Regions from separate parts of the Homo sapiens genome. Here all the other regions are linked to region 1. The links are contacts of gene promoters, found by promoter capture Hi-C in blood cells and fetal thymus (Javierre and others, 2016). All regions are on one chromosome and are shown on one strand. The core of a region is centred on a gene start or on the middle of the fragment in contact, and the rest is flanking DNA. Distances in the headings are between cores, read along the strand shown.

The links. The method cuts DNA at HindIII sites, captures the fragments that hold promoters and counts their contacts. A CHiCAGO score of 5 or more calls a contact.
Region 2: a contact is called between a fragment that was not itself captured here and the fragment with the promoter of STK38L in region 1, in 2 of 17 cell types (neutrophils and monocytes). The highest score is 7.4, in neutrophils.
Region 3: a contact is called between a fragment that was not itself captured here and the fragment with the promoter of STK38L in region 1, in 3 of 17 cell types (M2 macrophages, M0 macrophages and M1 macrophages). The highest score is 9.4, in M2 macrophages.
Region 4: a contact is called between a fragment that was not itself captured here and the fragment with the promoter of STK38L in region 1, in 1 of 17 cell types (neutrophils). The highest score is 5.5, in neutrophils.

What each region holds. Positions count from the first base shown.
Region 1 is chr12:27,240,350-27,247,239 of GRCh38, forward strand. STK38L (serine/threonine kinase 38 like) reads left to right here and starts at 3,937. Exons shown (of 14, transcript NM_015000.4): 1 at 3,937-3,983. RefSeq lists enhancers at 2,648-2,707, 5,296-5,345 and a silencer at 3,766-4,005. The HindIII fragment of the contact is 3,512 bases long and covers 2,743-6,254 here.
Region 2 is chr12:26,989,903-26,996,792 of GRCh38, forward strand. TM7SF3 (transmembrane 7 superfamily member 3) reads right to left here. Exons shown (of 12, transcript NM_016551.3): 4 at 6,840-6,890; 5 at 5,335-5,506; 6 at 548-725. Among named protein-coding and RNA genes, the nearest start is that of TM7SF3, 21 kb to the right of the region's middle. The HindIII fragment of the contact is 8,079 bases long and covers 1-6,890 here.
Region 3 is chr12:27,041,615-27,048,504 of GRCh38, forward strand. No RefSeq gene overlaps it. Among named protein-coding and RNA genes, the nearest start is that of MED21, 23 kb to the left of the region's middle. The HindIII fragment of the contact is 5,419 bases long and covers 319-5,737 here.
Region 4 is chr12:27,100,515-27,107,404 of GRCh38, forward strand. It overlaps the pseudogene LOC124902904. Among named protein-coding and RNA genes, the nearest start is that of C12orf71, 21 kb to the left of the region's middle. RefSeq lists an enhancer at 3,501-3,670. The HindIII fragment of the contact is 6,266 bases long and covers 322-6,587 here.

The sequences.
Region 1 (6,890 bases), core at 2,687-5,186:
GGGTCTGTGAACCTCAATGCAAAAACCATATATATATTACATATATAACTATGTATAGTTATATAGTTATATATATTACATATATGACTATGTATAGTTGTATAGTTATATATATTACATATATGACTATGTATAGTTGTATAGTTATATATATTACATATATGACTATGTATAGTTGTATAGTTATATATATTACATATATGACTATGTATAGTTGTATAGTTATATATATTACATATATGACTATGTATAGTTGTATAGTTATATATATTACATATATGACTATGTATAGTTGTATAGTTATATATATTACATATATGACTATGTATAGTTGTATAGTTATATATATTACATATATGACTATGTATAGTTGTATAGTTATATATATTACATATATGACTATGTATAGTTGTATAGTTATATATATTACATATATGACTATGTATAGTTGTATAGTTATATATATTACATATATCACTATGTATAGTTGTATAGTTATATATATTACATATATCACTATGTATAGTTGTATAGTTATATATATTACATATATGACTATGTATAGTTATATATATTACATATATGACTATGTATAGTTATATATATTACATATATGACTATGTATAGTTATATATATTACATATATGACTGTATAGTTATATATATTACATATATGACTATGTATAGTTATATATATTACATATATGACTCTGTATAGTTATATATATTACATATATGACTCTGTATAGTTATATATATTACATATATGACTCTGTATAGTTATATATATTACATATATGACTCTGTATAGTTATATATATTACATATATGACTCTGTATAGTTATATATATTACATATATGACTCTGTATAGTTATATATATTACATATATGACTCTGTATAGTTATATATATTACATATATGACTCTGTATAGTTATATATATTACATATATGACTCTGTATAGTTATATATTACATATATGACTCTGTATAGTTATATATATTACATATATGACTCTGTATAGTTATATATATTACATATATGACTCTGTATAGTTATATATATTACATATATGACTCTGTATAGTTATATATATTACATATATGACTCTGTATAGTTATATATATTACATATATGACTCTGTATAGTTATATATATTACATATATGACTCTGTATAGTTATATATATTACATATATGACTCTGTATAGTTATATATTACATATATGACTCTGTATAGTTATATATATTACATATATGACTCTGTATAGTTATATATATTACATATATGACTCTGTATAGTTATATATATTACATATATGACTCTGTATAGTTATATATATTACATATATGACTATGTATAGTTATATATATTACATATATGACTATGTATAGTCATATAGTTATATATATTACATATATGACTATGTATAGTCATATAGTTATATATTACATATATGACTATGTATAGTTATATAGTTATATATATTACATATTATGTAATTTTTTCACTAAACTCAAACTGAAAATTAGCATTTCTTCCATCATGAATGTAGGCAGCAAACCACAGGAATATTAGCAATACCTGTGACTTTTCCTCAATAGGAATCACACATATTTTCTACCCCATTAAAGTTGTTGTAGATATCTCAAAATATTGTTTCTGTGTATCATTACTACAAAATTACTGTAGGTCTTGATCTTATTATTTAATGCATTAATAAAGAGGCAAATATATAACTATTTTAGTTATCTATGGCAGTGTAACATAGTATCCCAAAAGTTAGTGGCTTAAAACCACAAATATTTATTGTCTCACAGTTTCTGTGGGCCAGAAATCTGGGCTTGGCTAGTTGGGCCTGCTGGCTCAGTATCTGGTTTTACAAGGCTGCAGTCTAGGTGTCAGGTGGGGCTGCAGTCATCTCAAGGCTCAACTGGGAAAGAATCTACTTCCAAGCTTACTTACATGATTATTGGCAGTATTCAGTTCATCACAGGTTGTTGGACTGGGGGCCTGAATTCCTTGGTGGCTGTTGACTGGATCTCTCTCAGTTCCTTGCCATGTGGGCTTCTCTGTAAGGCAGGTCACAAGACAGCAGCTGGCTTCCATGAAAGCGAGCAAGTGAGAGAGCAAGGACAAGCAAGATGGAGCCCAGAATATTTTTGTAACCTAATCACGGAAATGATATCCTAATCACTTTTGCTATATTTCCTTTTTAAGAACTAAGTTACTAGAGAAGGGAATTACAGAAGGCAGGAATACTAGAAGGCGTGGATCATTGGCAGCCATCTTAGATGCTACTACTACTTACCACATAATTATATTACAAACTCACTTTTTAGTATTTTGGTAACTGTATGTTAACATTATCAATTTCCTTTGTAACCCTAGGTAGTTTATGCATTTAAGAACACTGTTTTGAAAAGGGGTCCATAGACCACCAAAATTCTGGTTCATAGCTCTAATTTGTTTCAGTTGAGGTACTTTCAACAACTTCCCAGGGAAATTTGTTTACAATGGTCTCAATTTAGGAGAATTTAGGAACTAGAGGTCAAAGTCTTAGGCTATCCCATATTAACCTAGACTGCTACTCTATACTAGTTCATATTACTCTAGTATGGCACATTTGAAGACATAAATTTGCTGTGGAACAAACCATACACTGTTCTCAATCTTATCGTAGCATTTGAATGGTATGTGTATGCGTGCAGTACAGGGAGAAGGGTGTATAGGCCTGTCAAGCTTGTCTGATCACAATTAAACCTCCTATGCTTGTATATGACAACTGTCATTTGAGTTTCAAAATGACCATATAAGTGGAGCTGATCTCCCCAAAAATACACTAATTACCAAACTAGAGCTTTTCCCACTACTAAGCTATGTATGAAAAAGCACAGTGTAAGAAAGAGAAATGAGGTAATGCTTCTTTCCTAGGTGTTTTGCTCGTGTCACCTGCTCTTGGGAAACCTAAAGATGACAGGTGGCATTTCTAAGTGATAGTTTTTGCAAGCACAGTACCAGCTTCATACGTTGTCTCAGTAAGCTAAAAGCTAAGAATATTTTATAAGACCTCCAATACTCATATTGAGGATAAACTTGCCAACAATAATTGGGAGTCATTCTCTCATTTGGCTTTCCCAAAGGCCAGTTTTGTCCCCAGACGCAAATTGCATCAACCTTCCCAAAGTTGTCCCTTTTGGGTCATCCTATAGGGGAGTGCTCTTCTGCACAATTCTCAGATCCTACTGATAAAGCAGGCCAGTACTGTAGTTATTTTAGATTTTCCAAGAAAACTCAAACAGGTTTTTAATGTATTTTTTGTGGCATTTACAAATCCTGGTTCCTCTCCAGTCTCTGGAGTCCCCTCATGGTGAAATGGAAGCGTCAAGGAACCTGGGTGGCTTCGAGTCCCCACAGCTACCGACTGAGCAACTTAGCTGATCCATCTTTGTTGACAACTGTTTCCCAATCTGAAAAATGCGTGAATTCTCTCTTTCCATTTCTAACATTCTTTGCATTGCACTGTTTGAAAAATTCGGATGACATTTAGAATGTGACTAATGTCGCAACACATTAGGCCACTCTCAAGAGAGGCCTGAACAGGTTTGGCGTAAAAACGGCAGTGAGGTGAGGCTGGTGAGAGGGGAAGTGGCGACAGTTCAGTCAACTCCCTCAAAACCAGTCTGGCCTTCACCAGGCGGAGATGGGTGGGGCCGGGAAGACGGGCGTTGACGACAGAAGGCTACTTCCGGCTGTGGTGCGTATGACGTCAGGGCGAGTCGGACCGACCCAGCCACCGAGAAGCCGAGGAGGCAAGGCTCGCGAGAGTTCAGGGAGGCCGCCCTGAGATTCCGGCGAGGCCGCGGGTCCCACCTCCCGGGGGCGGGGCGAGGGCGGAGCGGGGAGAAGGGAGCTGACGGGCGCCCGGCCGGCTGCGGTCCGTGCGGAGGCTGAGCCGGCCGCGGGCGCGACCGGAGGCAGGTGAGTTCGCGGATGTAGCGCTCGGCTGAGGGCCCGAGCTCGCCGCGCCAGCCCCAACTCTGCGAGCAGGAGCAGGAGGAGATTTTAGGTGTCTTTGGGTGTCCAGGGAAAGCCGGGCTAATTCTGGGGCTGGAAATGTCTCCGGGGAACCTGCGGCGACGGCCTTGGCCCTCTTATTCCCCGGGGTGATACTGGCCCCATGTGTCCAGAGAGGGAGCCTCGCACCCGGGGAGGAATCTTTGTCCTCTGCTCCTTTCTCCTTCCACTCCCCGGCCCCCGAGCACTCCGCTCCGGGTCCCCGCCTGGGCTTCACAAACAATAACAAATGTCGCGGATCCTCTCCGGGTAGCCCCAGCGCTCCCGTCCCGTGCCCTCCAGCCGATGTCACCCAGAGCCAGGATCCGAAGCATGGCTCTTCAATTGTGGGGGCTGTTTGTGTACCGTTCCTAAAAACTGATGCGTCAGATTGCCAAACATTTCTCAAGACAGACTCAGGAAAGCCTCCCAGCTCCTAGAAGCCACGGAGTGCTCAAAACCAGTCTTAGAATCTGTCTTTACCATTGCACCCGTAGCCCCTTCCTTTCAAAATCATTTCTCCCACTCCTTTTTTCACCTTTAGTATCGAGGTCGAACGAGTGGTTATTTGGTGTGGGAGTAGAAAAGAGTATAACCGATTGAGTAGGGCACGTTTCACCTTTAAAAAGTTGCCAGGTTGACAGCAAAAGAACAAACTTTATTTTCAAAACCAGTGGCCTCCCCTTTTACTGGTGCTGCTTTTGTTTTGTGGAATAGCTTTTCGGGTTCTAAGTTTGGAGGAATGATATAAAAAGAAGTGGGAGGTGGGGGGAGGGCTAGTGGCTCTGGAAGTAGTGGCTTGTCCAAAAGTAGGATGCTATTGTTTCTCACTTGATAAAATGCAGAACCAACACTTTTACCCATTTCACATAACTTGTGATAAGTTTTGAGAGAAGCCACTTAATCGGAAATGGCCTATTAGCTTATTTTACTGCTCAAATCTGAAAAAACAGCTTTAAGTGATTTAAGTTCTGCCTCTTGATTGTAAGATGGGGATTGATGAGTGAGACCTTGTCTTTTTTGGCGCTGGGGCTTACGTTTGACCGGTCTCTCTACTTTAAGGCAGGGCCTATTGTACTTAAGCCCATTTTTGCTTCCTCAGTACAGATTCTTGAAAGTTCTTTGTCTCAATCATATATGTATATAAGGTACTGTAAACCTCTTTGAATTTGATTGGCCTTTCTCTCTGTGCCTCAGGATATGTAAAACAATTAAGTTTATTATACTCTCTCCCCAGTGGCTGAGAGGTATTGTATGTGAATTAGCCACCCTTGTGACTATTTGAGGAGAGAGAAGTTAGTCTAAAATATTATGTTAAATTATGATATTACATAATTTTATTGCATAAGTTCATCAAACTACTTCCATCTGAAAAATCCTGATCTCAAAATAGGTAGGTACAATGAATTAAAAAATGTTTTGGTTTGACCTCACTTAGCTTTGTTTTCTCCTTGTTAAGATGGCTGATAATGTTTCCCATTTGGTTGTGATGTGTTTAGAATGAGAAGCAAAGTTGGGTGTAGTTTTTGTACTCTTTTGAAAGGCCTTGCCACTAGGAATGAAAAAATTAGACTTAGAAAACACACATTAAATAGAAGCAGTTTTTCTCTAGCCATTTGCTCTTGAGTTTGTTTTAAAATAAGTCAAAGAATGGAGACTGAGATGATTTGTGCCAACAAATAGATGTCCTTGTTAGTTTTTATGCTGAAAACTTGATTTCTAAAGGTAGGACACTGTAAGAACAAAGGAGAAATTGGACTTCCTAAAAAATGATAACAAAGCAATGGACTCAGTTCAGCTGTTTGCTTTCAGAAAAGTTCTGTTCTCTTAAAGTAAGGAGAGCATCATTGTGTTAGTGAAATTGGATAACGCACCTTAGAAAGTGCCTCCCCAGTGATCCAGGATAAGTTGGAGGCTCTTTTGTGTGTGTGTGGCACTTTTTGTTAAGAGGGAGAAAGGGCACAAATCAGAGCCAGAAAGATTTGCATCTCGATGTATTGTTAAAATGCTTTTATTTTATGTAAATAGTGTCAGGTGAATCAAGCAAGCATATTGTTGTCTAGCATCCTTAGGATTACATTAAAATCAGCAGATTGGCAAGTTATGATTAGGTTAGACTTGACATATGCAGAAATTATGCTTCTGTATTTTTATATTAAAAGCACCATGGTCTTTTTGAATGAAATAATGAAAGCAAGCTTTTAAGACATAACTTTTTTAAAAAATTAAAAATCTGTCTTTGGTTAGTTTATAAACATGAAGCATATCCTCCTCTTCTTCCCCCCAAAATTTTTGTTTAAGTCTTAAGAAAGTCTTTAGCAAGGTATGACCAGTACTTAAGTGCACTGGTTGCATAAGCCTTCTGTCTCCAGGTAAAAGTTTGCTAATTGACAGGGTATTATTGTTCAGAATCTTTAGAGGGAGAGAAATGAAAGGCAACAGTGAACAGTGTTTGCTGCTCTGTACACTCGGACGAACTGTGGTTGCTACTCTGTACACTCGGACGAACTGTGGTTGCTGTCTTCAAGGAGATGTGATCCAGTGGGAGAGAAATATACCTACCCAAATAAATACCATAGAAAATGTGTTTTATGAGGAAGCCAAGGAGGGAGGGATTAAGTGCTGCTAGACCAATTAAGGAAGACTGAAATAGGAAAAGGCGTTTCTGTGGATGATTTAAGTGATCTAGTCATATGATAATGATGATAAGTAAATACTTTATATAATGCTGCTTCCTGCTAAATCCTTTACATATATTACTTACTTGCCTGGCTTTAATCCTCACAACAACTGTATGGAGTAGGTATTTTTATTATTCCCGTTTTGCAGATG
Region 2 (6,890 bases), core at 2,463-4,962, 250 kb before region 1:
CCCATACTACAGTCTACAAGGCCACACACAGGCTGCCTGCCCCTGCACCTCTCACCTCACCTCTACTTCCTTTGCCCTCCTCGTTCTCCTGCAACCCCTGTCATCACTGCAGTTCTTCACACCCTCAGACAGGCTCCCAGGTGCAGGCCCTCATCCTGGCTGCTCCCTCTGCCTGGTACATGCCACACCCAGGTACGTGCGTGGTGCATCAAGGACTGCCCTGGCCATGCTATCTATCTCAAATTTTCCTCTTACTGGCATGTGTTATCTCCCTTTCCTACTTTATTTATCTTCTTAGCACTCACCATTTTCTCACGTATTACATATTTTATAAATTTATCTTGTCTGTCTCATCTCCCTCACTATAATATAAGCTCCAGAACAAGTATTTTTGCTGTTTTGTTTACTGCTATGTCCCAGTGCCTAGAACAGAGAGTGGAATAACGTAGGGGCTCAAAAGGTATGTGTTGAATGAATGAGAACTAGACAAAAGCATTATCTGCAAGGCCAAAGGAGAATTTGTAAAAGTTTAAAGCCACATACTCACCTAGGGAAGCACAACTACCCTCTCCTGCCTCAAAGCTGCAAGCGTATGTGTGAGCAGGAATGTAGGCAGCAGATGTATTTAGAAACGGGTCCCAAACAATGACATTGTATATGACACCTTGTCCCGGGAGGGAGGAGAAGGAAACACTTGTCTTATCATTAGCTGTTAGGGTAACCACCTGAAGCCAAAAATAACACATGATTAGTGTTTAGGGGATTTTTTTAAGCTATTCTGTGATAATCCCACCTACGTGTAATATTAAATGGTATATTCATAAATTATAATTCTTGCTTAAAATATACACCAACCCATTTAATATGGTCAAAAGGCCATCTTACATGGTTTGTATGTGCTAATGTAAACAAGCTCTCACACAAAATGCTTCCAAAGGTTTTTTTTAATAGTTTAAGGAAAATGCGATATAAACAATGTATAAATGCTAGTTACGACCATGAAAAAAGTTTTTTCACCTCTGCTAGACTATAAACAAGGATGGGAACTGTATTTCTCTTGTGCACTGCTCTTTCCTCAGTGTACAGCCCAATGCCTAACACAGAGGATGTGTCCAATGTTAGCCACAGACTAACGCAGACAGTCTGTTAACATCTCGCAGACAGTACCCACTTATTTTTGTCTAACAGTCTCTGAAACAAGAAAATATTACATGAGGTTTTGTTATGTAGTAGTAGTTCTTTTTTTTTTTTTTTTTTTTTTGAGACGGAGTCTCGCTCTGTCGCCCAGGCCGGACTGCGGACTGCAGTGGCGCAATCTCGGCTCACTGCAAGCTCCGCTTCCCGGGTTCACGCCATTCTCCTGCCTCAGCCTCCCCAGTAGCTGGGACTACAGGCGCCCGCCACCGCGCCCGGCTAATTTTTTGTATTTTTAGTAGAGACGGGGTTTCACCTTGTTAGCCAGGATGGTCTCGATCTCCTGACCTCATGATCCACCCGCCTCGGCCTCCCAAAGTGCTGGGATTACAGGCGTGAGCCACCGCGCCCGGCCAGTAGTTCTTAACTTCAGAAATTCCATTGTAAACTATAAAATAGAAGAAACAAATGCTTTATAGAACCATAATACCTATGTTCCTACTAATTTGAGAAAAATAAATATTAGGGTTTTAGGAGAAAATTATTATGAGCCCTCCTACATCAGACTACCATTGTTTAAAAATACTGCTTAGCCTTCAATAACTTGCTTCCTGGGCAAAGGTCTGGTAAAGTTCAACAAACTGTTAATATTACTCCCAAGTTACAATGAAAAGTTTAAACCAGACAGAAAAGTTGAATGAATAACACAATAAATAGACTATATACTGCCTAATATCAACAATTGTTAATATTTTACATTTGCTTCTCTATCACTAGTTTCTCCCCAACTCTACTTTTTTCCTGCTGAAAGTAAGTTACAGATATCATGACATTTCACTTCTAAACACTTCACTGTGCATGTCCTACCACAGTGTTTCTCAAATTTAACGTGCTTGTGAATCGCAGGGGGCAGTCTTGTTAAAAGGTAGATCTGATTCTTAGGTCAGCGTGGTACTAGCAATTGTGCCTTTCTAGAAAGCTCTCAGATGATGCCAATGCTATGCAAACACCTACCACACTCTGAGTAACAAGTTACTCAGTACAGATGTAAGTCTAAGTACAGACTTACAAGGGGGTTACATCAGGATAAACCCATCGTAAAGTCAAAATGCATTTAATGTACCTCACCCACCAAACATTATGGCTTTACCCTAGCCTACCTTAAATGTGCTCAGAACACTTACATTAGATTCAGTTGAACAAAATCATCTAACACAAAGGCTATTTTATTTTTTTATTATTATTATTATTATTATTGAGACGGAATGTCGCTCTGTTGCCCAGGCTGGAGTGCAGTGGCACGATCATCTCGGCTCACTGCAAGCTCTGCCTCCCAGGTTCACGCCATTCTCCTGCCTCAGCCTCCTGAGTAGCTGGGACTACAGGCGCCCGCCACCACCACTACGCCCAGCTAATTTTTTGTATTTTTAGTAGAGACAGGGTTTCACCCTGTTAGCCAGGATGGGCTCGATCTCCTGACCTTGTGATCCTCCCGCCTTGGCCTCCCAAAGTGCTGGGATTACAGGCGTGAGCCACCATGTCCGGCCCACAAATGCTATTTTATAATAAAGTGTTTAATTGCTTATGTAATTTATTGAATACAGTACACTGTAAAATGTTAGCTATTACCCGTGTGGTTAAGCAGGAGCGATGGCTCACTGCCACTGCTCAGCGTTGCAAGAGTATCATACTGTATATTGCTAGCTCAGGAAATTATCAAAACTAAAATCAAAAGATCATAAGTCAAACCATCATAAGTCAGGGACCATCTGTATAAGAATATTCTCCTATATAACAATACCTTAGCTCACCTACGAAAATGAATAATTTCTTATTAGCTAATAAATGATCCAGATTTTCCCTAATGTCTTTTTTTTTTTTTTTTTTTTTTGAGACAGGGTCTCACTCTGTCGCCCAGGCTACAGTGCAGTGGCGTGATCTCAGCTTACTGCAACTTCTCCCAGGCTCAAGCGATCCTCCCACCTCAGCCTCCTCAATATCTGGGACTACAGGCACGCACCACCACGCCTGGAACTTTTTGGTTTTTTTAGTGGCTGTGAGGTTTTGCCACGTTGCCCAGGCTGGTCTCAAACTCCTGAGCTCAAGTGATCTGCCCTCCTTAGCCTCCCAAAGTGCTGGGATTACAGGTGTGTGCCACTGTTCCTGGCTCCTAACATCTTTTCTAGCTTTTCTCCTTCTTACCCAAGATCAAACCAAGTTCCATGCATGGTGTTTACGGCCAATCTCAGTAATCCAGAGCAGTCTGTCCCACCTTTCTCTCCCAGCTACCCAATGACTGTAGAAGATGTGAAGTCAGTATTCTCATAAAGTATTCCACAATTTTGTGTCTAACTTATTCTTTTATCCCCCATATTTCCTGTAAATAGGGAATCCAATGGACTAAATTCAGGTTAGACATTTTTTGCTAGAATATACCACAGGTGATGGTGATAATGTCAGACTGCACTACATAAGCACGTAATACAGGCTGATCCATTTTCAGTGAAACTAGCTTTGCCCACCTGGAATAGGTGGAGACTATAAGGTCACTCCATGTTAAAGTGGTTCTCCTTTTACAATGAGAATTAATCTAAGGATGCTACTTAGACACCCTAGAAATATCCTGTTCCCCAAAAACCTTTCACCTGCTGATCCTTGCTGGAATTATTTCATTGAGGGTCACAAAATGGTGATCATCTAATTCTATTATTTCTTCTACATATATTAGCCAGCACTCTTCTGCAAAGAGCTTTCTCTCACCAACTGGGGAAGAATTAGTTCCTCCTTTAAAAAGGCAAGCTAAATTTCTTTATCAATTTTTAGAGTAATTTGCTGTAAGAGTCTCCTCCAGTGGTGGCAACTGAGGAAGGTTTCATTTGTATTTATTCAAGGCTGACAACCACAGTCTTTTTCTTGATTCTTGAACTGCCCCAAATTTGGCAGTGCAAGCCCCTTCAAACAGGCTCCTGAATCTCTTTGACATACCCTCATTAGTCTTTGAGGGTTTCCCCACATTCTGGTACAAAATATTCTTTTAACTAAAAGTTTAAAAGTAACCTACAAAAAGCCTATTATACAAGTTCTTATATTCTTCATAAAAATAATAATAGTATTAAAATGTCATATCTAATAAAGCAACTAATAAACTTTACTAACAGAGCTTCTTATTTTGTGAATAAGCACAATGACGCTGTCTAGAAAAACTCCACCCATCAACCATTAGACTGAAGGATGACCTCATATATTATATTGCTGTTAGGCACTTTTCAAGACATAAAGATAAAATCCTGCCCTCCACAAAAATGATCTATTGCAGTGAGTCTCAAAATTTAATATGCATAAAAATCACCTGAGGGCTGGAGTGCAACAGCACCATCTGGGCTCATTGCAACCTCCACCTCCTGGGTTCAAACAATTCTCCTGCCTCAGCCTCCCAAGTAGCTGGTATTACAGGCATCTACCAACATGCCTGGCTAATTTTTGTATTTTTAGTAGAGACACGGTTTCACCATGTTGGACAGGCTGGTCTCAAACTCCTGACCTCAGGTGATCCACCCGCCTCGGCCTCCCAAAGTGCTGGGATTACAGGCGTGAGCCACTGCACCCAGTCAGAATCACCTGAGGGATATAAAATGCAAATTCTGATTCAGTAGTTCCAGGGTGGAGTTTAAGAATTACAATTCTCACAAACTCCCCAGTGATGCCAATGCCACTGGTCCATGGTCCACACCTGGGGAGCAAGGGTTTACATGGATTCAAAAGCTCAGAGAAGAATTTTACTCCAAGTTAGACTTTGAGTTTGGGTTCAAATATGAATGCCAATGTGTATATCCTTAAGCAGTTTCTCATTATTTTTTTCTCAAAACAATGTAATCTTCATACTTGCCAAAAATGTTTACCCAGTAGTCGTGGGAGTACACAGAAAATTACCACCTCCTTCCATTCACATTTCAGATTACCAAGTCACAGATGTGGCTGCAACTAAAACGTAACATAATTTACATGCATCTCCTCAAAGGCCAACATCATTTTGAGATATCACCAGCAAAGACTCCCAAGATGATAACAAAAGAGAATAAAGTGAGTGTCCCCCAAAAAGGAGAAAAGAGTAAAGAAATAAGATCCTGGTAGCTTCTCCCCTTCTCAACTCTGACAAAGGTGTCACAATCCAGCCACACAAATCATGGGACTCAGATTTACCTTGAGAGCACTGGCCTTCACCTGGGGCACACTGACCATCCTCTGCAGATGCTTCAGCAACATCTCCTCAGTGAGGTCATTCTCAGGCAGAAAATACTGATAGACATCATACTGCAACCTCCACCTGGAGTCCTGGTCTGTCCCAGCGTCACATGGTGGGGGATCTACGCCTCTAAAGTCAACCAACAAAATGAAACATCAGTCTCTTGTGGTGCAAGTCCCATCTATAAAAAGGAACCAAGAGCCCTAATTTCAAACACTTGCAACAATAATTACAATTTAACAGTTCACCTTTTGCAGTGGCAACAATTGGTATTCTGAAGAAAAGTAATGCACTGTTATGGACTGAATGTTTGTGTCTCCCCAAAATTAATATGCTGAGACCCTCACTCCCAGTGTGATGATATTAGGAGGTGGGACCTTTGGAAGGTAATTAGGTCATGAAGGTGAAGCCCTAATGAATCGAATTACTGCCCTCATAAAGGAGATCCCAGAGAGCCCTCTAGCCTTCTTTCTGTCATGTGTGGACACAATGACAACCCAGCAGTCTGTAACCTGGACGAGAACCTTCACCAGAACTCAACTGTGCTGGCATCCTGATCGTGGACTTCTACCCTCTAGAACCATGAGAAAGAAGTTTATAAGCCACCCAGTCTGTGCTACTTTGTTACAGCACCACAAACTAAGACAAACACCAACAGGCAAAGGTGATTACATAACTGGATTCTGATATCAGTCAGGCCTAGAGTAAAATACTACAGCTCTGGGGAGGCAAAAAAATTTTTTTTAAAAAAAAGCTGGGTGCAGTGGCTTATGCCTGTAATCCCAGCACTTTGGGAGGCTGAAGCAGGAGGATTGCTTGAGCTAAGAAGTTCAAGACCAGCCAGGGCAACATAGAAAGACCTCATCTTTGATTTAAAAAAAAAAAAAAGAAGAAGAATATAGCAGATTTGTCATTTGTTAGCAAGTAGGGTAACCTCCATAACCCCTAGGGAAACTTTCTGTAAAATAACAGCAATTGCCCTTCTTCATAAAATTGTTAGGATTAAATGGCAAAGAACATAACAACACTCAGCACCACGGACAATGCACAGGAAGCATTCAAGTGTTCTCAAATGTTAGCTATCATTACTATTAAAGCAGAAACTGAGGCACAGCTTTAATTAAAACAATGAATCTTTATAAAAATAAAAGGATGTTTCAGGGCTACTGAGTGCTATCTATATTTAAAGTGCTTTATAAAAACCAGGATGTATTTTCAAGCTCATAATAGACTCACATCTGGCTCTTCAAATAAAAAGAGTTCACAAGAATGAAGTGGGAAAATATTAACTGTAAATGACAGTCCAAATATTAATAGTGAAGTTTAAATTACATCAATTCCCCCCAAAAATTAACTCAATTTTACTACAGAGAATTAGGGACTTGAGAGAGCTGGTCAAATCTACACAACTGTCGTCATGTATATTCTAAAAGCATTTCTCAGACATGGGAGACAGACGTACCTCGCATAGCCTAGGTTTGCTGGGGCAAACTTGATAGTCGTTTCAAAGAAA
Region 3 (6,890 bases), core at 1,778-4,277, 200 kb before region 1:
ATTATCCAAGAGAATTTCCCCAACCTAGCAAGGCAGGCCAACATTCAAATTCAGGAAATACAGAGAACACCACAAAAATACTCCTCAAGAAGAGCAACTCCAAGACACATAATTGTGAGATTCACCAAAGTTGAAATGAAGGAAAAAATGTTAAGGGCAGCCAGAGAGAAAGGTCGGGTTACCCACAAAGGGAAGCCCGTCAAACTAACAGCAGATCTCTCGGCAGAAACTCTACAAGCCAGAAGAGAGTGGGGGCCAATATTCAACATTCTTAAACAAAAGAATTTTCAACCCAGAATTTTACATCCAGCCAAACTAAGCTTCATAAGTGAAGGAAAAATAAAATCCTTTACTGACAAGCAAATCTGAGAGACTTTGTCACCACCAGGCCTGCCCTACAAGAGCTCCTGAAGGAAGCACTAAACATAGAAAGGAACAACCAGTACCAGCCACTGCAAAAACATGCCAAAATGTAAAGACCATCAATGCTAGAAAGAAACTGCATTAACTAACGAGCAAAGTAACCAGCTAACATCATAATGACAGGATCAAATTCCCACATAACAGTATTAACCTTAAATGTAAATGGGCTAAATGCTCCAATTAAAAGACACAGACTGGCAAATTGGATAAAGAGTCAAGACCCATCAGTGTGCTGTATTCAGGAGACCCATCTCATGTGCAGAGGCACACATAGGCTCAAAATAAAGGGAGGGAGGAAGATCTACCAAGCAAATGGAAAACAAAAAAAGGTAGGGGTTGCAATCCTATCTCTGATAAAACAGAATATAAACCAACAAAGATGAAAAGAGACAAGGCCATTATATAATGGTAAATGGATCAATTCAACAAGAAGAGCTAACTATCCTAAATATATATGCACCCAATACAGGAGCACCCAGATTCATAAAGCAAGTCCTTGGAGACTTACAAAGAGACTTAGACTCCCACACAATAATAATGGGAGACTTTAACACCCCACTGTCAACATTAGACAGATCAAGGAGACAGAAGGTTAACAAGGATATCCAGGACTTCACCTCTGCACCAAGGGGACCTAATAGACATCTACAGAACTCTCCACCACAAATCAACAGAATATACATTCTTCTCAGCACCACATTGCACTTATTCCAAAATTGAGCACATAGTTGGAAGTAAAGCACTCCTCAGCAAATGCAGAAGAACAGAAATAACAAACTGTCTCTCAGACCACAGTGCAATCAAATTAGAACTCAGGATTAAGAAACTCACTCAAAACCACTCAACTACATGGAAACTGAACAACCTGCTCCTGAATGACTACTGGGTACATAACGAAATGAAGGCAGAAATAAAGGTGTTTTTTGAAACCAATGAGAACAAAGACACAACGTACCAGAATCTCTGGGACACATTTCAAGCAGTGTGTAGAGGGAAATTTATAGCACTAAATGCCCACAAGAGAAAGCAGGAAAGATCTAAAATTGACACCCTAACATCACAATTAAAAGAACTAGAGAAGCAAGAGCAAACACATTCAAAAGCTAGCAGAAGGCAAGAAATAACTAAGATCAGAGCAGAACTGAAGGAAATAGAAACACAAAAAACCCTTCAAAAAATCAATGAATCCAGGAGCTGGTTTTTTGAAAAGATCAACAAAATTGATAGACCACTAGCAAGTCTAATAAAGAAGAAAAGAGAGAAGAATCAAACAGATGCAATAAAAAATGATAAAGGGGATATCACCACCGATCCCACAGAAATACAAACTACCATCAGAGAATACTGTAAATACCTCTGTGCAAATAAACTAGAAAATCTAGAAGAAATGGATAAATTCCTGCACACATACACCCTCCCAAGACTAAATCAGGAAGAAGTTGAATCCCTGAATAGACCAATAACAGGCTCTGAAATTGAGGCAATAATTAATAGCCTACCAATCAAAAAAAGACCTCATGGTATTTTTATGGAATGTAAATCAGTTTATAGATGAGCAGGAGTCTAGTATCATCCTTTAAGACATATCTGGTTTTTATAGGGTCAGACCGGTGAATTAAGTAGGCACTTGATGGGGATCACAGTGCCTGCAACTTTTGGGTCTTTAAGGATGACTTTAACGTCTACCATAGTCCCAGGCAATATTGTTTTTAATTTACAATATAATTTTTTTACATTTTTACAATTATTTATAATATTTGTCTTTTATGTACAATATTGTCAATGCCGTATTCTTTTAAAATTTACTATATTGGCTGAGACAGGATGAGAGGGACAGTTTCAGAGTCTCCACTTGGCTTTCCCCACTTCCGTAGCTCTTACACCATTGGTTAAGAAACCAGTGTGGGGGTTGTGCTAACTACAAAGTCAGTGACCAGGGAAATAATCACTGATGGGTCATGAAACCAGTGAACCTACTGTGAGTGGGATCTTTGCAAGGACCCCATGTATCATCTGGCAACCATAACCCTTTTCCCCAACAAGGTGGCCATGATAATGCCCCTTTGAATTAATTCTGCATTAATTCTTAGGTATTAATGTCAAAACAGACTCTGCCACCAACAAACTCCTCAAAATGCCTTGGCTTGTCTCTTTCCCTTGTATACAGTAACCTGAGTAAATGGCCACAGGTCTCTTTGGGATAGGTATGAGAGAATCATTGTAAACACTTGCATTATAGGGTTTTTCTCACGCAAGATCCTCATTGTTGTTCAGTCATTGGGTTCTGAATCTGAAAAAGGTCTCAAGTTCTGAAACAGGGAAGACATCATGACTTTTTGTTGGGAAGTGCTCTCAGGATTTTAGTCATCTATCTTTGTTGTGTATCATATGGCATGTACTCTTTGTGTCTGGCTTCTTTCATTAAGTACAATGATTTTGAGATTTACACAGATTGTTAGTGCATCGATCTTTTTATTTTTGAATAGCATCCCATTTAATTGATTCCATTGATTGCAATGCTGCCTGTCTCTCTTGCCCTTAGGGACTCATGTTCTCTTAATCTTCATAGCTCTCCGAGGGTCGGAAACTCCATTACTTGCTACTCAGACTTTGCTGTTATTACAGTAATTAAGCCTATTTTGGTTCTGATGGTTTAGATTTGCCACCAGGCACCTTTTGTTTGGGGATCCTGTTATTCCCATTGCCATCATGTAGCGTAGTTTGGTACCAACATCAACCATCAGACTTAGCCACTGGTGTCTAGAACCAGCTCTCACAAGATGGATTTATTCTCATCAACTCTCACAAGATTGTTACATTTTTTGAAGTTTTATGAACCAGTTGTTACCCAAGATGTTGAATGTAATATGACAGGAGAATGATCCATCCTTATGTCGATATACTCTCCCTTATCCAACATTATTCTCCTTGACTGCATTTTCATGTTCCAGTCTCATGTGTATTTTCTCAGCTCTTGCCAGTACATCTTAACTAGGACCTGCAGCGCCTTTTCCTCCATAACAGACCCAGCACCCCCAAGCTGTGTTATATCATGATTGATCCTAATTTTTTATTGGGTAGCCAGAATGTGAGGTGGGGGTTGCATTACTCTGTTCTCACATTGCTATAAAGAAATACCTGCGATTAGGTAATTGATAAAAGAGGTTTAATTGGCTCACGTTTCTGCAGGCTGTACAGGAAGCACAGTGCTAACAAGTGCTTGGCTTCTGGGGAGGCCTCAGGAAACTTACAACCATGGCAGAAGGTGAAGGGGGAGCAGGCATATCACATGGCCAGAGCAGGAGCAAGAAAATGAGGGGGAGATGCTTTTAAATGACCAGATCTTACAAGAGCTCACTCACTGTTGTGATGACAGTACCAAGACGATGGTGCTAAGCCATTCATGAGAAATCTGCCACCATGATCCAATCACCTCTGACCATGGCCTACCTCCAACATTGGGGATTTTTTATATGAGATTTGGGTGGGGACACACATCCAAAGTATATCAGGTGTGTATCCTGGGCAGAGGTGGGTGGGTGGGGGGTGGCATTTATCTTGCAAAGTAGAGGACTTGGCATCATCTTCCAGGAAATGGGTAGAGCTAACCTTTAAGAGAGGGAGAGGAGAAGGCTGCTTGTGCCAGCCCGGAGGAATCAGGGGAAGTGCGATTCAAGATTTTCAGCATATTAACCAAGAGGACCCATTCCAAGTCTTAAGATCACAGTCCTTCCCATCAATACCCTCCCTGACCTTGATGAAGCCAACTTGCCTGAGTTGAGAATCATATATTTCTAGAGCTTGTTCACTACTCTTGGAATTAAAGGCTGAATCTGATCCTCAGTTTTTTCTGCCTCCAGACTACAAGAGATGAGCATCTGCTGCCAAAGAGGCCTTCTAGCTTTCACACTTTGCCTTCAGTCGATGATTAATACCCTTAGCCTTTCATTTCCCCCCCAAAGTATTCATTGATAGCATTTAGCAATGATCATATTCCACTTTTTTTGTTTACAGATTTATTGAAGTTTAATTGATGACAATAAACTACATATGTGTTTGTATGTATGTGTGTGCAGTGCACAATTTGCTAAGTTTTTGTTTGTTTTTGTTTTTGAGACAGGGTCTCGCTTTGCCACACAGGCTGGAGTGCAATGGCACAGTCATAGCTCACTGCAACCTCAGCCTTCCACATTTGGTAAGTTTTGACATGTATCTATGAAACCATTATCAAAATCAAGACAACAAACATTTCATCAACCCCAAAAGTTTCCTCCTGCTCCTTTTAGTTTTATCCTTCCTTCTATCCCCAGGTAACTCCTGATTTGCTTTCTGATAGGTTAGTTTGCATTTTCTAGAATTTTATATAAATGGAATAATACAGCATGTATTCTTTTTTTTTTTTGGTCTGGCTACTTTCATTAAGTATAATGATTTTGAGATTTATGTATCTCGTTGGTGTATCAATCTTTTTATTGTTGAATAGTGTATCCCATTTAATAGATCTATCAAATGTGTTTATCCATTGATCTGTTGATGGACATTTGGGCTATTTCCAGGTTTGGGCTATTATGAATAAAGCTGCTATGAATATTCATATACAAGTCTTTGTGTGGACATGTTCCCATATTTCTTGAATAAATATGTAGAAGTGGAATGGCTGGGATATTTGGCAAAAGTGTTTTAAGTTTTCAAGAAAGTGCCCATCTATTTTCCAGTCATTGTACTCTTTTGCATTCTCATCAGCAGTGTAGGAGAGTTCCAGCTGCCCCACACCTTCACCAGCAGTGGGCAAAGTCTTTTAACTTTAGCCATTCTAGTGGGTGTATAATGGTAACTCATTGTAGTTTTTTCATTTCATTTTTAAATTGAGGTACAATTGACATGCAATGAACTGCACCTATTTAAACTGTACAATTTGATGAGTTTGACATATGTATATACCAATGAAACCAACACAATCAAGATGATAAATATATTCATCACCCTCAAAAGTTTTCTCATACCCCTATGAAATTCTATCTTCTCTCCCCTCCTTGCTCCTGATTCCCTACCCCAGATAACCACTAATCTTCCTTCTGTCATTAGTTTGCATTTTCTAGAGTTTTATACAAGTGGAATCTACAGTATGTACTTTATATGTATCAATAGGTCATACCTTTTTGTTACTTACATCTTTGTTACTGTGACATATTTCACTGTATGGCTAAACCATTATTAGTTTACCTGTTGACAGACATTTGGGTTGTTTCTAATTTTTGCCAAACACAAATAAAGTGGCTATGAACATTTACATACAAGTATTTGTATGGACTTAAGCTTTAATTTCTCTTAGGTAAATACCTAAGGAGTAGAATGGCTGGATCATATAATAGGTGTATATAGTATTTAACTTTTTTTTATAACACTGTAAAACTGTTTCATAGTGGTTGTATGGAAATAAAAATGAGAAACAAAATAAAACAAATGTATACCAAAACATGTTTAATGTTTCACCTTCAAGAAAAGGGAGCACTTTACAATGAGTGAGAAAATATATATCCACATTTTGAAAAAAACTCCAAGATAAAAGGCATTTTGACAACAGATATTTGGAAATATTTCCATCGTTACAAGAGTTTATTGTCAAAAATGATGTATGTCCATCTATAAAACTCTCCTATCTGTTGCTAAAACAAATTTATCTGCTCTATTTTTAAATATTTTCAAAAAGTTAGTTTTAAACCTATTTGTTTAAAATATGAAAATGCAAAACCTTTTATTGCTTCCAAGAGTAATTTATTGACATCGAAGAAAATATAAATTTATTACTTAAACAAAAATCTTCCTTTTTAGCTCCTCTTTTTTGTTTTGTTTTTATAACTGGACAGATAATAATTGTACATATTCATGGGGTACATAGCGATGTTTCAATACATATACTGTAGTGATTAGATCAGGGTAATTAACATATCTTTTTAATTGGTGAATGGAGTGAAAAATTAATACTCTGATTTAGTAAGTGAAGCTAACTCTTCCATTTGAATCCATACTTCTCTGCAGGATCTTTTTTAGCTTTGAGAGCCATTAACACCAAATATTGAAGTAAACTAAACTTATAACCAGACCATCATATCATTTTATCTCATAAAATGAAGCAAGTATTCCTGTCACTTCTGGGAACACAACTGAACAGTATTGTTTACTAGTGAAAAAAAATTGAGTTTTCAAGTGAAAATTGGAATTTTGGAAAACTTGTATCCTCCCTATGAGCTTGACAGCTTCCCAATATTTAGAGACTTTTATGATATATTTATGGTGAGACCAGTGATAATATTAACAATTGTTATTTTTGAAATATTGCTTAATGAAACCCATCAATACCAACCCAAATTTTATAAAAACAAAGCATATTTAAAAACATTTCTTGGGAGGGCATGGTGGCTCATGCCTATAATCCCAGCACTTTGGGAGGCCGAGGCAGGCAGATT
Region 4 (6,890 bases), core at 2,205-4,704, 140 kb before region 1:
ATTACCAATCAGAAATTCACTGAATCTACCTATGATCTGGAACTAACCACCCTAGTTGTGCTCCCTTTCTGGACTGAACCAATGTAGATCTTATATGTATTGATTGATGCCTTATGTTTCCCTAAAATTTATAAAAGCAAGTTGTAGCCTGACCACCTTGGGCACATGTTCTCAGGATCTCCTGAGGGCTGTGTCATGGGCTATTTGTCACTCATATTTGGCTCAGAATAAATCTTTTCAAGATATTTTACTGAGTTTCACCCTTTTCATTGCCATAGATCTGGTATAGAAATTTTAAGAATGGGTCCTTAGTCCTTAAAAAGCTTGATTTAGTACAGGCAACACTCCAAGGACCTGGTTAGGCAAGACTGCTTGCCAGAGACATACTTTTTCCTTAGCCAAATATAACATCTATTAGAGATAACCCGTGGTTCCATATGGTACTTGGTAACAGAGGCTGAGAGAGAATGGGTGTGGGGAGAGACAACAAGTGCTATAGGAGTACTTGATGATGTGGTAATCTTCCTTGAGTATTCTGCCATGACATTCAGTTTTTATATATAAGATCCAGGCACAGTTGTCACTGGGTATTCATGGGGGGTTGGTTCCAGGACCTCCCACAGATACCAAAATCCAGAGATGCTCAATTCCCTGATATAAAATGGCATTGCATTTGCCTAAAACCTTGGAATCTCCTCCTGTATACTTTATATCCTCACTAGATTACTTATAACACCTAATACAATATAAATGCTATGTAAATCTTTGTCGTATTGTTTAGGGAATAATGACAAGAAAAAGTCTGTACCTGTTTAGTCACAGACGCAATTTTTTTTCAAATATTTTCTATTCATGGTTGTTTGAATCCACTGATGGGGCACCTATGGATATGGAGGGCTGGCTGTATTTCATCAAATTTCAGTGTAAAGGATGGCAGGGTAATGACTCACCTAGATGATACTTTTATAGTTCCTCCTGTTTCCTTCCTTTGGTGGATGAAGGAAATGCTGTCATACTCAGAAGTTGAGAGTGGGCAGTTACTTGCCTCAGTAAATGGCCACTCCATCCTCCTATGGCTTAGGCCATAGTCTTGAGTTCATCTTTTCTCCCAAATGCTCTATCAAGTTCTGTTAGCGTTTATAACAAAAATATACACAAGGCAATAGAAACGTTGCTATCTTGTTAGGGGTATGTTCATTTGTCAGAATGCATCAAACTGTGCAGCAAAGAGCTGTGCATTTTACTCTCTAAATTATAACTTAATTCATATGTGTAATGCATCCTAATATGTATGGTAATATACATTTTATATTCAGAATATATATATAGCAATATGCATTTTATGTATGTATATATACATATTTACTATATGTGTATTCACACATACGTACATAGCTAGTGTCCAATCACCATCTCTACTGCTCACACCCTGACCCGAGCCACCAACAGAACCTCTCATCTGAATTGTTGTAGTCATTTTTTGACTGTTCTTGTTTTTATCTTTGCCACACCTGCAGTGTGTTCTTAGAAATGATTCTTCTTCTTTTTTTTTTTTCTTTTTTTTGAGATGGAGTCTCGCTCTGTCGCCCAGGCTGGAGTGCAGTGGCGCGATCTCGGCCCACTGCAAGCTCTGCCTCCCGGGTTCACACCATTCTCCTGCCTCAGCCTCCCGAGTAGCTGGGACTACAGGCGCCTGCCACCACGCCGGCTAATTTTTTTTGTATTTTTAGTAGAGATGGGATTTCACTGTGTTAGCCAGGATGGTTTCCATCTCCCGACCTCGTGATCCGCTTGCCTCGGCCTCCCAAAGTGCTGGGATTACAGGCGTGAGCCACTGCACCCGGCCAGGAATGATTCTTCATAAAACAGAAATCAGATCATGTCATTCCTTGGCTCAGAACCCTCCAGTGGCCTTCCATCTCCATGCTCAATTGAAGTCAAAGCCTGGCTGCCATGGCTTGTGAGGCCCCAGATCCCACTACCGCACCACTCCCACCACACCTTCTGTGCCTCTGGGACCACATTCCCTACTAACCCCCCGGCTCACCACCTTCCAGCCCACTGACCTCAAACATCAACTACATGAAGCTCCCCCTCCTCGGGGCCTTTGCACTTACTGTTGTTTCTCCCTGGAATCTCTTCCCAGATATTCCTGTGACTTTCTCCCCTCACCTTCTTCAAGGTTTTAATCAATGTCACTTTACCAATGGGGCCCTCCCTGATTATCAGATCAAAACTTCTAAGTCCCTGCCATTCCCTTTCTGCACGAAGAGCTGGCACAGTATATAATTAAGCGGACATGCTCTGCTGCCAGACTGTCTGACTTCACATCATTTTTCTAGCTGTGTGACTTGGTGCCTCAGTTTGATCACTAATAAAGTGGGGATAAGTATCGTGTCATTAGGGTTATTGTAAAGATTAATTGAATTGATATATGAAAAGCACTAAAAAACAGTGCCCGGTACATAGTAAGCTAATGTTAATGTTATTCCTCTTGCTTGCTTCATTATTTTTCCCATAGCACTTATCAATCACCCTCTCATCTGCTATGTATTTAAACTATTTTTTGTGGTTTCTTGCCATTAGAATGTATGTGCCATCAGAGCAACAACTTTTTACTTTTTTTCCTTTTCTATTTTCTTTCTTTGCTTTTTCTTCATTACTTTTTAAATTCAATTTAAAAAGAAAATTGAGTTGCCAGCTTCACCACTTAGAATAGTGCCTGATATACAATAGGTACTCAATAAATATTGTGTAATCAGTGGGTGAATGAGAGAAGAGTCTGTGCACTTTCAGGAGGCTGTAGGATAAGGTAGGTTAGGGAAGGGGCTGGAAACATTTTCTGCAAAGAGCCAGATAGTAAATATTTTAGGCTTCGTGAGTTACAACTACTCAACTTTGCTGTTGTGGCATGAAAGCCACCATAGATGATATGTAAACGAATGAATGTGACTGTGTTCCAAAGAAACTTTATAAAAACAGGCAGTGGGCTAGATTTGACCATAGGTCATAGTTTGCCAACTCCTGGGTTGGGGAATAATTTTTGGCCTTACTTTCCCCCTCATTACTCCTCCCTTCAGCCAGCAATTAGTGCTATTCACTCAGAACTGAAATATGAATAATTTGAAAAGCATTACATTACCCCTTAGTATTTGGCTCAGTATACAAATTTTCCATATGTCTCTTAATATTTTATTAGGAAATAACAATGTTAAGAATATATTTTGAACTTTCCAGCTGTACAGTTTCAGGGCTCTGGTTTTCATTTCTCTTCTCCAACAGCCGAAAACTGGTGATTCTGGCCAGGAGCACGTGTGCTATAAAGGAACAAGCAGTGTTGGCATTCCTCTTACTGTATGGCCAAGAGTGTAACTGACACCCAGTTGGAATAGAAACCAACAGAAATTACCTACAAGACAAACTGTTGAGTTTATAAGATTATTTATGAAAACTTATTCCTCCACAAAACTGTTTCCTAGCCCACAGTTTTTACCAGTCTTCCCAATCAATTTTATATGCTAGCAAGTTTCTTCCAGCTTTTTAATACAGTGAGTTTTGACCATGTGACAAACTGAAACTTTAACACAAATTATATAGCTTTTATTGGTGTAATTAAAGCAGGTCAGATGATGCATCATAATTAGGCAAATAAGCAGTCCAACTATGTGACTGCAACTGATGTAAATTTTATGCAACCAGAAATGGTTTTTGTGTCACCTCTTCTGAACTTAGCAGCCCATCCTTATTGTCGGTGCTAACAGTTTTCCACTTGCCGTTTAATTGTCTTCATCATTTTATATGTGTGGAAAGAACAAACCTGGACCATACTCCCCATTTGTTGGGGTTTTCTTGCTCCCTGTGTTGCACCTTTTTACAGCTGTGGTCCATGGCTGCGGTTTCCAATCAGAGTGTGATGTAACCTACTCCCAAGACACCTGGCCAATGTGCCTCATTTTGTTTTCCATCATGAATTAATCTGTTTTCTAAAATTCAATTTAAAAAGAAAATTGAGTTGCCAGCAGAACTATCACATAATTGGATATCACAGCAAGGTCAAGTTGCTATGCAGTTGTTAAAGTGGTTATTCTCAATTTCTGTACTTATAGTAGACCAGCAACAGTTCGTGCACCAGCTCCAGTCCACAGACCACATTCTAAGCAACACCACTTCAGAGCAGTGGTTTTCAAACGTTTTTATCCCAGTATAAAGTATGCATTCTTAGGTTGTAAAACACATGAGTGTGTACATGCCTGTGCAGACACACACACACACATACTCTGAAACCACTGGAATGTCAGCCACCTAAAGGCAGAGCTTCGCTTTTCTTGGTCTTTTTCACTGTTCTGCCTCTAATACCTGGCACATAGGAGGCCCTCAATCAATATTTGTTGCAGGTACGTGTGTGTGTATGTGTGTGTCTGAATAATCAAATCAGAATTTTCACACGATAATGCTTAACCTTTACTTCTGATGAACTACTCTTTTGTTGTCTATTTAATACAAAGAAATGCTGATTTCAATCTATTAATTCTATTTCAGTATGTTCCAATTTTAGCAGTTGTGACCCACGATTTATAAAACATTCCTTTAGAAGGTGCTTGTGTATAGGAATTTGTTATTCTTTTCTTCTTCAGAACTATGAGTAGCTGTTGCTCACTCCTGTCTTCCTATAGGTATACATATCCCAGAACTGTTTACATCTAGGAAGCAGTCCATGTAGCCTGCATACATTAGGTTGGTAGGCCTGTGAAGGAAAATAGAGATAGATGAGTCTCCAGGTTTTTAAGAGCTAAAAAGAAGGGAAGAATGAGGTTAGAGTTCGAGTGGTTAGAGCAATAACAAGTTGAAACAGACCCACCGATACTCCTCCATAATACTGGGGACTAAGTTTGCAAACTCTTAGGAATAATGTCATTCTAAAATAGTACAATGAATTTGATTCACCTACATCTCGAAGAGCATGAAATTTCACTTTTTAAGATTGTGCATAGCAAGGCTGATAGCAATAATCACGTTTATCTAAATGTATCTTAAAAGTTAAGGTCATGGCTGGGTGCAGTGTCTCCCACCTGTAACCCCAGCACTTTGGGAAGCCAAGGCGGAAGGATTGCTTCAGCTCAGAGTTTTAGACCAGCCTGGGCTACGTAGTGAGACCTGCCCTCTACTAAAAATAAAAAATCAGCTGAGCATGGTGGTGCCCACCTTGTAGTCCTAGCTACTGGGGAGGCTGAGGTGGGAGGATCACTTGAGCCCAGGAGGTCAAGGCTGCAGTGAGCCGCGATCATGCCACTGCACTCCATCCTGTGTGACAGAGCCAAGACCCTGTCTCAAAAAAAAAAAAAAATCAAACAAAAACAAGTAAAGGTCAGGATGTAGTTTTCTGAATTACGCATATAGGATCTGGAGTACTTAAGACATCAGAGCGTGTATGTGTTTGCAGGGCCACTGAGTCATAGCTGCACACAGCAAGCATTTGGTGTCTACCACACTAGATTATGGGGAACAGATAGCAGAAACACAGTCTGTTTTCAAGGAGTGCACAGCTTTGTCCAGGAGACAATCACTGTAAAATCAGGGCTGTCATGGTGGTGGCAGTCGGGCTGGCCTTGGAGGAAAGAATGCCTGACCCACCTTGAAAACATGTGTCCCAGGACATAGAAGAGGGCCCAAGAAGTAGGGGGATCAGTGCGTGTCATGGCACAGAGGTGAGAGGTTAGAAATGTCTTCCAAGCAGGGCATGTCTTTGCAGTATGGTGGGAGGCTGGCAGTCCTGTACATAGTTTATAGTTTGGATTAGAAACATGTGAGGGAGGTCAAGGTTGGTGATCCCAGTCAAGGCCTAATAGTTGTTTGTTAAATACCTACTGAATGAGTGAGAGGAATACATGGGAACAACATGGGTTTTGGACTCAAATCTCACTTCTTCAGTGACCTTGAACAAATTCCTAACTTCTCCATGTAGTCATAACAATAGCTAGTAAGAGTAGATATCGAGAAATGGGGCTTTCTTTCAACTTATCACAAGATCTTCAAATCTACTGACATTTAATACACATCAGTTTTTCAATAGCAGCAGCATCCTTTATTTGAGAAGTAAAAGATCTTGGCTTATTGTATAAACCTTTTCATCAACTCTCTTCTGGTTATTCCTAAGCATTAATAGCAGAGAGCCAGAGGGCTCATTTCCTTTTACCTCATCCTATTTTCCCTTGCTGCTTCATTTATTTGATTACTTACTAGCTTTGCTTTTTTGTATTTTGTGGCATTTCATTGTAGTGAACAAGAGAAGTAACTTTTACTAATGTATTGTCATTAATACGCCCTCTTTTGTACTCTGCCTTATAATCCTCTGTGAGCAGGTGTTTCATTTTCTGAATGTGCGTGTGCATGTGTGTGTTTGTGTTTGTGAGGGTGGTTAAAATAACAAGTATTGTGTTATTTGGTTTATAAATATTTGGTGAGCCCTTAGTATGCTTGAGGTTATGGTAGAGAAATAAAATATCTAAGACAATATATCATGGTTGAAGGTGTTTGAAAATTTTATGGTTTAAATATATGGATAAAAATGGAAATGTTTTATTATGGAAAGCTTCAAATATATAAAAACATAGATAGAATACCCAGCTGGGTGCAGTGGCTCACACTTGTATTCCCAGTACTTGGGAGGCTGAGGTGAGCGTATCGCTTGAACCCAAGAGTTCAAGACCAGCCTGGGCAACATGGCGAAACCCTGTCTCTACAAAAAATACAAAAATTAGCCAGGTGTGGTAGCCCCAGCTACTTGGGAGGCTGAGATGGGGGTATTGCTTGAGCCTGGAGAAGTTAAGGCTGCAGTGAGCCATGTTTGCACCACTGCACTACAGCCTGGGCGATAGAATGAGACTCTGTTT